2 separate regions of the Homo sapiens genome follow, and region 1 is linked to region 2. The links are contacts of gene promoters, found by promoter capture Hi-C in blood cells and fetal thymus (Javierre and others, 2016). All regions are on one chromosome and are shown on one strand. Each heading gives the region's core, a stretch centred on a gene start or on the middle of the fragment in contact. The rest is flanking DNA. Distances are from core to core; before and after follow the strand shown. Region 1 overlaps DIRC3 (disrupted in renal carcinoma 3). Region 2 holds the start of TNP1 (transition protein 1).

Region 1 (5,898 bases), core at 2,148-4,647, 800 kb after region 2:
GGAACTGCAAACCATGGGGCAATACCCCAGACCTGCTGAATCACTAAGTCTGGGAGTGGGATCCAACAATCTTAGTTTTAACAAGATTTAGTTTTATGACTGTAATCCCAGCACTTTGAGAGGCCAAGGCAGAGAGATCACTTAAGCCCAGGAGTTCAAGACCAGCCTGGGTAACATGCAGAAACCGCATCTCTACAAAAAATACAAAAAAAAAAAAAAAATAGCTGGACATAATGGCAAACACCTGTAGTCCCAGCTACTCAGGAGGCTGAGGGGGGAGGATGGCTTGAGCCTAGGAGGCTGAGGTTGCAGTGAGCCGAGATCACACTACTACACTCCAGCCTGGTTGCAGAGCAAGACCCCGTCAAAAAAAAAAAAAATTTAGTTTTAACAATATATTTTAAAATTTAATTTTAACCATCACCTGCAGGTGATTCTCATACACAATAAAGTTTGAGAAACACTACTCTGGAACCTGAAGAGTTGTGGACACTATTGGGAAGCACCTCTCTATCTCTGCTTTCCCTGCCTATTTTCTTTCCCATCCTGAAGGGAGGCAGATAAGAAAACAGAACAACCAGATTTTCCCCACAGAATCACAGAAATTGGGGTCCTGCCTTTGGTCATCCAAAGATGACCCTGCAGATGGCATTTACCACCTGGGTGGTAGCTTAGGCTGAAGAGGCCACTATGAGTGGACAGCCCTTTGCCATACTGTAGAAAGGGAACAGATGCTTTTGACGTGGTCAGTAGCTGGTGCTCCCCATGTCTGCTGCTCTCTCAGATTTATGGCACATAAACACTTTAGATCAGTCCAGACTCTTTGTTCTCAAACGCATAAGTCAACAGCACCTTTGCTGCAGATTCTGCCTAACTACTGTCTTCCAGCTGTGCCCAGCTGTGTCCCACAGACTGAAGTGCTGTGCTTTGTAATGGTTAGGAAAGTTTTGCACCCTCTCTCTGCTCACATGTGGCCTATTCTCACCATCTCTATACCAGCTGCTTGGGAGCCAGTTCACATTTGTAATGGAAACATTGGACTCTGAGGAAAAGACAGGCTGCAGTTTAAATCCATTGTACCAACTGTGTCCATAACCAGCAACTTTACTTTGCACCTGTTTCCTTCATTCATAAAATGGGGTAATATCCATCTTTCAGGGTAGGCTAGGAGTTAATTGAGGTGACATGCATACAATGCCTTAGCACAAGAAGTGGCACATCCTAGGTGTCAATAAAAACTTTCCCTTTCTTTCCACTCCTGCTCCTTGCAGACCAGTACCCTGTATTTTCTATGATGAAGTGTGGAGTGTAGTAAATGGGACAGGACCTGCAGTTAGAATGCCTGTGCTTGTCCCAGCACTGCCACTTACTATCTGTGACTCTAGGCAATCTATTTAACTTTTATCTGCCTCAATTTTCTCATCTATAAAATGGGGATGATAACAGTATCTACCTTGCTGGAGGATTGTCATGTTTAAATCCTAACATATATAAACCTAGTGTATCTAGTTAACACTCTGAAGATGTCAGCTATTATTGTTCATTATTAATAATTTATTATTAAGATGAATGTAATTATTCATTATCAATATTATTACTATATATTCCAAGTGAAAAACTGAGACACAACACCTACCAGTATGAGCCAACAAACAGTGACAGTGGGGCAGAATATTTGAAACTGGGGCTACATGAATGTGCCTCTTTGTATCTTGCTCATCCCTGCCTGTGTTTGAAAAAAAAAATTAATATGAATCTTGAGTGAGAGTTTAGGAAGATGGAGGGAAGAAGACCAGCAAAGAAGGCACGAAGAACGTGGATGGACCTGAAGGACATTATGCTAAGTAAAATAAGCCAGGCACAGAAAGACAAATACAGTATGATCTCACTTATATGTGATATCTAACAAATTTGACCTCATAGAAACAGAGACTAGAAAGGTGGTTATCAGAGGCTGAGGGGGAGGAGGTGGAATGGGAAAGAAGATGTTGGTCAATGGGTACAAAGTTTCAGTTAGACAGGAAGAATAAGATATTTTAGTGATCCATTGCACTGCATGATGACCACAGTTCCTAATGTATTGTATAGTTCAAAAATGCTAAAGGAATAGATGTTTAATGTCCTCACCATGAAAAACATTGCTAAGTTGGCAAGGTGATAGATATGTTAATTAGATTAACCCTTTCTATAATATATACATAGATCAAAACATCACATGGTACTCTCTTAAATAAACACAATTATTATTTGTTTTAAATTAATAAATTTAAATTTTTAATTTTAAAAAAGAATCCGGAAACGAGGAAAAGAGCGCCTAGATTTGGCTGGTGGTTAGAGAAATGGTGAAGCCGAGTCAGATCCAAGAATGGGGACTTTGAAAGGTTTTTGCCAACAAGTATTTCTCAGCAGAGAGTTTTTCCATTGTCTGAAGAAGAACCGGTCTGTTTTCCATCCCTCAGTCTCTGCAGAGATATTGTCACCACCACCCACTTTGTTCATGTCCTTCTTTACCCTTAAAAGACTTTGCTTCTTTCTTCTCCTTCCAAATCCTTCAGAATCCAGCTCTATTCCCACTTCCTCTGGGATACTCCCTGGTGGGCCTGTCCCTCTCCTGTACCCTCCTACATAGACCCCCTTGTGGCTTGTGGTCAACTCCACACCACTTAGCACAAATTTGTCTTCATTCCTAGACACTTTGTTGTGGTTTCACACATGCAAATCTTCTTCCCCAAACCAGTCAGCTTCTTTCCAAGGGCAAGAACCATATCTTCTATTAGCTTCTGGGCCCAATGACCTGAAAGAAACCAGATTAAGCCCCAAAGGAAACATAAAGGGTACATACAAAAGCTTTGAATACCAACTGGATCCTTTGCACTAGGTCTTTCCATCAAGATCTGTGTCCTTAGCTACTGGATTCACTCTTGTTCTCAGATCCCAGACACAAGGGAAAACAGAAAAGGAAAATGCAGCATCGTCTTCTTTTTCCATTTTAGGAACTCACTTCTTGCATATTGGCCTGGATCCTAATCCTACCCCTTAAAAGCCTTGGATTCTCCACTCCCCAATATAGGACCAGTATTCTGCAGTTCTCCTTCCTCCTGCAGAAGAACATCATTAGACAAAGGTGTGGAGAAGAGGTCTTTCTCTTCAATGTTCCTCCCTATTTTCCCTTAGCCACAAATCAGTAGAGAGATGTTAGATGGCAGAGTCAGATTGCAATATGAGTCATAACTAACAAACAAAAGAATTACTATTCAATTCTTAATAAATAGGAATTAATTCATTAAACTAAATTCTGAACTTCAAATTTAAAAAAATCAAGTGCAAAAGCATAGCGGGGTAAAAGATAATTTAAGTTAACTGCAGGTGTAAGACAAGACAATAATAAATAATTTCTCTTAAGAAAGTTAATGCAGCTGGGCTGCATCAACAAATACCTAATGTTCAAGACTTTAGAGGTGATATTTCTACTTTATTAGTGCATTGGTCAGATTGGAAGTAGAACATTTGGGATTTAAAAAGGAGGGCATAGACCATAGCCAGAGGAAGACAAGGCCAAAAATGGGTCTATAAACCACATCACAAAAAGAATGCTAGAAGAAACTGAAAGTATTTTGCTTAGAGAAGAAAAGTCTCATGGGGAAATGATCCCAGTTTTCAAATATTTCAAAGGTTTTCCTGTAAGAAAGAGACAATTTATTCTGTTACTCTGGAATAAGAGGAAGCAGATCTCAATAGGAGAGGAAAGTTACTTTAGTGCTTTAAAAATAAAATGGGTTACTTTGTGAGGTTCCCACCACTGGAAATATTAAGCAAACACAGTCCTTTCAGAAGCCTGCTACTTCCTCCAAGAGTTCAGTGTCTCCTTGCTGTTCTTGGGCTATTCAGGTTGCCCCGGTGGTGGCAAAGGAGATCAGGCCACAGACAAGAGATCGAGCCTGCTCCTGCTAAGCTTACATATCAAGCTCTCCATCCCTTGGCCCAGCGAGGATGCAGTGTCCCTAGATAAATCAGACAGGCTGAGGCTTGCTGATTAAGCCTAATAGCTAGCTGATAGAAGACACATACACCCTGTCTGCCCCCAGAAAACAAAAGACCATAGGGCAAAATGTTTAATGATGCCCCCCAAATACTTTGCTTCCTGGGGTAACTCTAGGCATCTAGGAAGGTATGGTAGAGACATTCAGAGGTCTAAGATATCCACTTTGGTTTGCTAGAGCACCTTAGGAGTGATTTAGTGATTTGCATTAACTTTCTTAATAGCAGTGATTTGGCTGGGCACAGTGGCTCATGCCTGTATTCCCAGCACTTTGGAAGGCCGAGGTTGGTGGATCACCTGAGATCAAGAGTTTGAGACCAGCCTGACCAACATGGTGAAACCCCGTCTCTACTATATACAAAACATTAGCCAGGAGGTGTGGCATGCACCTGTAATCCCAGCTACTACTTGGGAGGCTGAGGCAGGAGAATTGCTTGAACCCAGGAAGCGGAGGTTGCGGTGAGCCGAGATTGCACCATTGCACTCTAGCCTGGGCAACAAGAGTGAAACTCCATCCCCAAAAAATAAATAAATAAAAAAGGAGCAATGATTTATGATTGCCATGCCTTGCAACTTCAGTTGACTTTCACCATGCTGTGCTTCTGCACTTGATTTTGTTTGAAGTTCATAATTTAATACTAATTCCTATTTATTCAGAATCACAGCAGGAGTGATTTACTATCTCCCTCCCTTTCCATGAGGGAGATAGTTATTAAAAGCCAAAGCTTAGGAAGGTCAGGCAGTGGCTCCATAAGCTGAAACCCCAGCTCCGCTGCCTACTAGCCATGTCACCTTGGGCACTTTACTCCACCTATCTGTGCCTCCCTTCCTCCTCTACAAAATAAGAAAGTTGATCTTCATAGTACCTATGATGGTTGATTTCATGTGTCAACTTGACTGGGCCACACATTTGGGCAAACATTATTCTGACTGTTTCTGTGAGGGTGTTTGCATGAAGTTAACATTTAAATTAGTAGACTAGGTAAAGCAAGTTGCCTTCCATAATGTGGGTGGACCTTATCCAGTTGAAGGCCGGAATATAACAGGAGACTGACTCTCCCCTGAGTAAGAAAAAATTCTCCTACCCAATAGTCTGTAGAGCATTGGCTCTGCAGATCTTGCCAGTCTCCATCATTACTGGGGCCAAATCTGTCTTTATTTGCTCTGTTTCTCTGGAAAACTGACTCATATAGTAACTATCACAAGAATTTATGTTGAGATCCATTAAGAAAATGCAACTGAAACCCTTTTTCTATATATCAGGTCTAGAGTAAGCCCTCAATAAATACAAGCTATTTTTTTTTAGTAAGGTTGTTGCTTGAGGAGCAAAATCATCTAATTGGTTTTATTTGGAGGGGAAGAGAAACACTTGTAAACAGGGCTGGAATGACTGTGGCCAGATATGTTCACACCCCTAGGTGGGGAATGACTGCAGCCTGGACATCAGCTGTGTCCTCAGAGGCTCTTAAAGTCTCACATCCAAGTTCTTTCCTCGACGACAGATGTACCTGCCAGATCTCTGAGTAGTTGTAGCCACACACCCTGGACTCAAGCAGGCCCCTCTTTGAGAAACATAATGGCACAGCCCTGAGACAAGGAGGGGAAGAGAGGTCCCCTGGCAACAAATCCACTGAATTTCCCAAAAGATTCCTTGCTATGCCCATCCTTCCTGAATCCAAGACCAAAGCCTTTTTCCAAACCCTGGATATCGCACAACTGCACCCCATGACCTCTTCCTCGTTTGTCTCCCTGAATTTATAAACCTGAAGCCTTTGCCTGAATCTACCCTGCCCAGTGACATCTACCCATCATTCCAGGAAGGGCTCACATCCACCTCAACCCTTCCCTGAAGTTCTCTG
Region 2 (5,821 bases), core at 368-2,867:
CTGACTGCTGGAAACTTCGTGTCTAACCTCATGCCCCCTCATTCCTTCCTGCTTATACCCTTTCCTGGTTACTTCCCCAGAAACCACGTGGGTGGTTGGTTCTTGAGTTTAAATATGAGTCTCATTTCTACCCTGGAGCTACCTCTGAGGCAACAGGAAACAAGAAAAATACGATCCACCTCTGAGTGGGTGAATGTCATATCCTTGACCAGAGACATCATAAATTGTGTTACAACTCAGGGACAAGGTAAAGTGAGGGCTTAGGAATTTCCTAAATGAGCAGAACCAGCTCTATCCCTAAAGTCAGTTCTCTCTCTCTCTCTCTGTCAAATGATCAATACTCAGATTGAGACAATTCCTACTTCTAGGCACACTGGACTAAGGCTTATGGCATGCTACGAGGCAATATCCCACTCTTCAGTCTTGCCCACCTCAAGCCCAACATAGCTACCAAAATAACCTAAAGAAATCTAAACTCTCATCACTTCCACTGTTACCAATAGGATCCTTTACAAAGAACATGTTGGTCTCTGTTCAGAAGGTGTTCCCATCTCTTAGCCTGCTAATACTGCCCATATGATCAATGAATTAAGAGCTTCTAAGAGCTCCTCCAGGTGATCTCTATCTCCGGGCCAAGTCTTTAGATTTAGTTTAGCTTTCAACACCTCTATGCTATAAGCTCTGACGAAAACAGCTTGCATCCTTTGGTTTAAGCTCTAACAAAAACAGCTTGAATCCTTTGGTTAATGCTAATGAATGCATTTCTCCCTTTTTTATCTCTTCTCCCTTTCCATGTTGAGGAGAGAGACAGCACACTGGGATGAAGACAAATACGGCAATAGTGTGTGGCCAGAGTAGGACCACCTCCCACGGTGGTGGGAGGGAATTGGAGGACAAATTACTTTTGATATTTTCCAAGTCACATTTAATGGTTTCATACTGGCCAATTCTTCCCCAAACCCACCTAGCTCAGGAACTCAAGTCTTTCCAACCAAAAGATCAAAGTAAACATTTCTGCTTTCAAAGTTTTATTGAGATGTTGGGGAAAAACAGCCAACATATACATTCCTCATTTCGTCACAACTGGCATTTGATCCACATTCCATAGGCTCCTCTCTGGCTTTGATCTAACATCAGGTCTCCTTGGCAGTTCCCCTTCTGCTGTTCTTGTTGCTGCTTGGTGCTGTGTGAAGCGCACCAGGGCAGAGCCCGCTGGGGGCTCACAAGTGGGAGCGGTAATTGCGATTGGCTGTGGGAAAGGACAGGTTTGCAACAGAGACACGAATTAGAACATTCCCATCAAGACTCTTGTTGCTCAAATCTGCATTTAGTTATTGGAAATAATCTCAGGCCAAGATTTCAGGGTCCTGTGAGAGCTGCCTCCAAGAGGGAGGGCCTGGCAGCAATGTGTGCCTAAGTTTGGCAATCTCCTCCCCATCCCTCACTCACCGTCATCGCCCCGTTTCCTACTTTTCAGGTTGCCCTTACGGTATTTTCTTTTGCTGCCACCTCTCTTGACTCCCTTGTGAGGAGATCGGCTCTTGCTCCTCCTCATGCCATGACTCTTTAATTTGCGGCTGGTCGACATGGTAAGTTCTGCCAAAATGAGGGGCTTTGCAAGGCCCGGGGGCCAGGAGTCTGGGTATTTAAGGCCTTGGCCATTGTGACAGGGAAGGGGCATGGCTCAGCAGGTGGGCGGGGCTCTACTGTGCTGTCACTCACCTTTGCTGCACTTTGGTCACATTTGTGAAATAAGGTGGTCCTTTTCGTGCAGCTCAAGGGCTGCCCTCAGTTTTGAGGTCCTTTTTATGTTAAGTGAGGCTTTCCCAGAGAGGTGTTATTGAGAAACTGAATCCCAGCCCTGTGCCAGGCATTGGATGAGTACAAGAGACCATTCAGATATGCTTCTCCTGCCTGTAGGAAATGTAACAGTCATTGAGTGTGTGTGTATGCATGACTGTTTAAGTCTCTCACAGCATCCAGAGATAATAAATTTATTTCTGTAAGGACTTGACTCTACAGAACCCAATTCAATATGATCAAAATAGAAATATTCCTTCTTTTTCATCTAGGTCAGGATTTCTCAGTCTTGGCACTGTTGACACAATGGGCAGGGTAACTTTCAGTGGGCTGTCTTGTGCACCCTAGGATGTTTGGCAACATCCCTGGCCATTACCCACTGGACACCAGAGAAGCCTGGCAGCTATGACAACCCAAAATATTCCCAAACATTGCCACCTGTTTCTTTGGGAGGCTGGGGAAGTGAGGGAAAAAATGGCTCTGGTTCAGAACAATTAACCTAATCATTTTTTAAAATTCAGTCACAGATATTGATCACATAGCATATGCCATACATTTAGGTGGTAGAAAATTAGTGGAGGATAAACACACGTAGATACTGTGCTCATGGAACTCTCAGCCCACTGGGGAGAAAGCCATTCATCAGATGTCTACATAAATCAGTGAGTAAGTACTTACGGAGTCATTTTGGCTGGAGAAGGGCAGAGGGAAACTCCCTACATGGTACAGGATGAGGCTGGAGGGAGAGACAGAGATCAAACCATGATCAAGTACATTGGGAAGCCTTTAAAAATGTTAAGAGGATGGCATGTGAGATTAGAGGGTGCCAAGTGGGTGATGTATTGACTGGAGGAGCTGTGTAAAGGGAGATGCTACTGTCAACATCAATGGTTCAGCAGAGAGAAAGATTTGATGATGGTTTAGGTCTGGCCAGGAAAGGTGTTGATTGAGATCTAAAGTAGACAAGAGACCAAGGCTTGGTGACGGATTGAATTTGGGAGGTGAAAGCAGATGGTGTCAAGGGTGTGGCTTTTGTTTCTGTATAATGCAGTTATCTGGATGCTGGTGCCATTCATGGGGATAAAGGCCAGACATGGGGAGAGTGATGATCATGTACTTGGTATAAGACATACCAGCTTTGAAGTGCCTTTGACACTTACAAATAGATATATTGAATGATTATTGGTGTATAAGTCATCCAGCCTTTCCTTTTTCCTCCATTACACCTCATAGTAAATGCTTTGCTTTTGAAAATGTTTCTTTCTTTTTTTTTTTTTGAGACCGAGTCTTCTCTTTTGCTCAGGCTGGAGTGCAGTGGCACAATCTTGGTTCACTGCAACATCTGCCTCCTGTGTTCCAGCAATTCTCCTGCCTCAGCCTTCTGAGTAGCTGGGATTACAGGCGTGTGCCACCATGCCTAGCTAATTTTTGTATTTTTAGTACAGACAGCGTTTCGCCATGTTGGCCAGGCTAGTCTTGAACTCCTGATCTCAGGTGATCTGCCCACCTTGGCCTCCCAGAGTGCTGGGATTACAGACGTGAGCCACTGTGCCCGCCTCATTCGGATTTCTATAGAACTTGTTTGCTATTTCTTCCATTTGTCTCTCCTCTCTCCATTGTCATTACCCTCATTCAAGAACTGAGCATCTTGTATGCAGGAGATCCTTAGCAAAAGTTGGTTGAATAGAAGAGCGAAAGTAGTTCAAGTCCCACTCCCTGGTTTTCTGATATCTATAGATGGCAAATTGAGTTTTGAAACCCAGATTCCTTGTATAGCCACCATATGTGACACTTTCCATTTTCCTGCTTCTGGGCAGGTCTCTCTGGAGACCTTCTATTGGTGACTTGTTGGTGACTTTTATTCACATGAAGAAGTTCTATAAAACAGGCTGCTGGCTTGCTTGTTGGTAGTCCAGACCTTCTGCGTCCACTCAAGGCTGGTTGTTTCTCCTACAAACATGCCCCCATGAAAGCAGGGACCTCTGTGAAAGCAGGAATTGAGAAATTGGGCTCACTACTGAATATTCCCTGGGAGTTCATCAGTCCTGCCACAGAATAGAAGCTCAGTAAGTATTTGTGAAATACATTTGGTCAATGAATAAAAAGTCCTTCTTTTATTTTTCTAACTATCCTGTTCCTTCCCATTTTGCCCCACATCTCTAAGGAAGACTTCCCAACTTATCAAATTTTCACTGTCCTTTGAAACTTCTTCAAAGTTTATTGTCTGTATAATATTGGCTTTAAAGTCTAGACAACCAACCCTAATTGTGTGAAATCATGTTTTATGCCTGCATTGCCAGCCATGTGTGTTAGACTGGTTTCAACAGGAGGTGGTGTGTCTTCATTCTGGTCCTGACTGGACTTCTCTGGTCGTTAGCTCCCTTATTCTAAAAATAAGCAGATTGGGCTAGGTGATCTCTGAAATGATCTGACTTTGGCGATAGCCTCCTTCTCGTTAGGGACTGTACCTTTTATTTCTACTGCATTTTCCGCAGGTACTAGCATGGCCCACACTAGGTGGTCAGTAAATATTTGTTCAGTCTAGCTGCTTTGGTATATTATGAGGACAGACAGTTCAACACAATCACAGTGACTTTGCATAAGTGGGGCCATTTCAAGGCAGGGAAGAGAGAAGACATTGTCCTCACAACAGGTCCTCTGGTGCTCTGTGTCCACCTCTCATGCCTGAAACCATTGGCTAAAATGTTTACAGAGGAACTGGCCTCTTTGGTTTGAGAGACATTTTTCTGGATGGTCCTGAAGGCTGGATACTATTTCTCTCCCCAATCCCTCCCACCCCCAAAAGATCTGCTCTGCCAAGGAGAAGCTGAGATCACAGGGAAGAAGGCAGCCAGACTCGGGAACTGATGAAGAAACAAACAAAAAAGTCCCCTTTGCCTAGAGTTGAGGAGCAGTTCTGGTTCCAGACACCCATGCTGAGAAACTTAAGCAGCAGAAAACCCAGTGGGGGACGGGGAAGGCGATTCACAGGCCACTCAAGAGTGGGGTGTGGGGGGTGTTTGGGTTGGCTCCTGTATCGGACCTCCTGGAGTGAGGATGGAGCAGGGCTGAGCGTTGGTCTCTGCTGCCTGTCTCTGTTTCTCTTCCCATTTCTGCCCCAGTGTTGCTCAAGCTAGCAGCAATTTAGATAGAGCCTAGTGAGCTACTTCTAACCTTTAGCAGGTCCAGGATGAGGCCCTTCCTTGAGAATCATCTGTTAATCCAGTCTGCTCCCTGTCTCACCATTTTGTTTTTTTCTGCTATCTTTGCACAGAGAGGACATATGAGTGACTTCAAATAACTCAGCATAGGACTAACAGGGACAGCCCCATAAACCTGTTTCCTTTACACCTTAGCTTCCCTGGTGGGACTCAGCTTTTTTTTCCCTTAATGAAAGGAAACGACTATGTTCTGAACATTTTTGGCACAGAAAGAGAGAGAGCTAAATTCCTGGCCTTTTGAGAAGAGACACTATCAGCCTTTTCTTTTCTTGGGGCTCAGTGAGTTCTTGCCTGGAGAAAGGTAAATGGACAGGATGGTGTCTGTATCTCCTAGACGGGTAGCTAGGGTTACAGTGCAGGAAAGGGCTTGGAGGCCAGTGCTCTCACTGGTCCCTTTCCTAGGCTAGGAGGGGTAGCCTTAGGGTGTCACTGTTTTGGAAGTCAGATCTCTAGTTAGATTCCATGTCACTTCTCCAATTCAAACTCACTCCATTAATTTTCCCGGGGAGTCCAGTGGATGCCTTCATAGGGCCGGATCTTCCCAGCAGGCTGAGACTTGGGGCTTATGAAGAGGGAACATGGAAAAGTTGCTGACAGTCCTTATACCTGTCGATGACTCAGTCTGAATCCCTCTCTGAAATCTAAGTCTCTCCAGATGCTGACCTCGGCTGGGAAGTGGGGACCTTTTACCCAGTTCACATGCACACCCTGTCTTCTCTACTGTTGTTATTGCTGCTGTTCAAACAGGCCAAAGGGGCTTGGGGACAGGCTGGAGGAGGGGAAAGTGGCTGAGAGAGGTG

The links. Contacts are between HindIII fragments. The CHiCAGO score rates a contact against its expected background, and 5 or more counts as called.
Region 1: a contact is called between a fragment that was not itself captured here and the fragment with the promoter of TNP1 in region 2, in 1 of 17 cell types (neutrophils). The highest score is 6.2, in neutrophils.

The regions. Positions count from the first base shown.
Region 1 is chr2:217,657,950-217,663,847 of GRCh38, forward strand. The region is part of intron 2 of DIRC3 (disrupted in renal carcinoma 3); the gene reads right to left. Among named protein-coding and RNA genes, the nearest start is that of DIRC3, 130 kb to the right of the region's middle. The HindIII fragment of the contact is 1,105 bases long and covers 2,846-3,950 here.
Region 2 is chr2:216,858,447-216,864,267 of GRCh38, forward strand. TNP1 (transition protein 1) reads right to left here and starts at 1,618. Exons shown (of 2, transcript NM_003284.4): 1 at 1,450-1,618; 2 at 1,012-1,249. The coding sequence starts at 1,588. The coding sequence ends at 1,221. It overlaps LOC124906118 (a long non-coding RNA gene), which reads right to left. Exons shown (of 3, transcript XR_007088082.1): 2 at 2,479-2,536; 3 at 1,808-1,914. The HindIII fragment of the contact is 13,346 bases long and covers 1-5,821 here.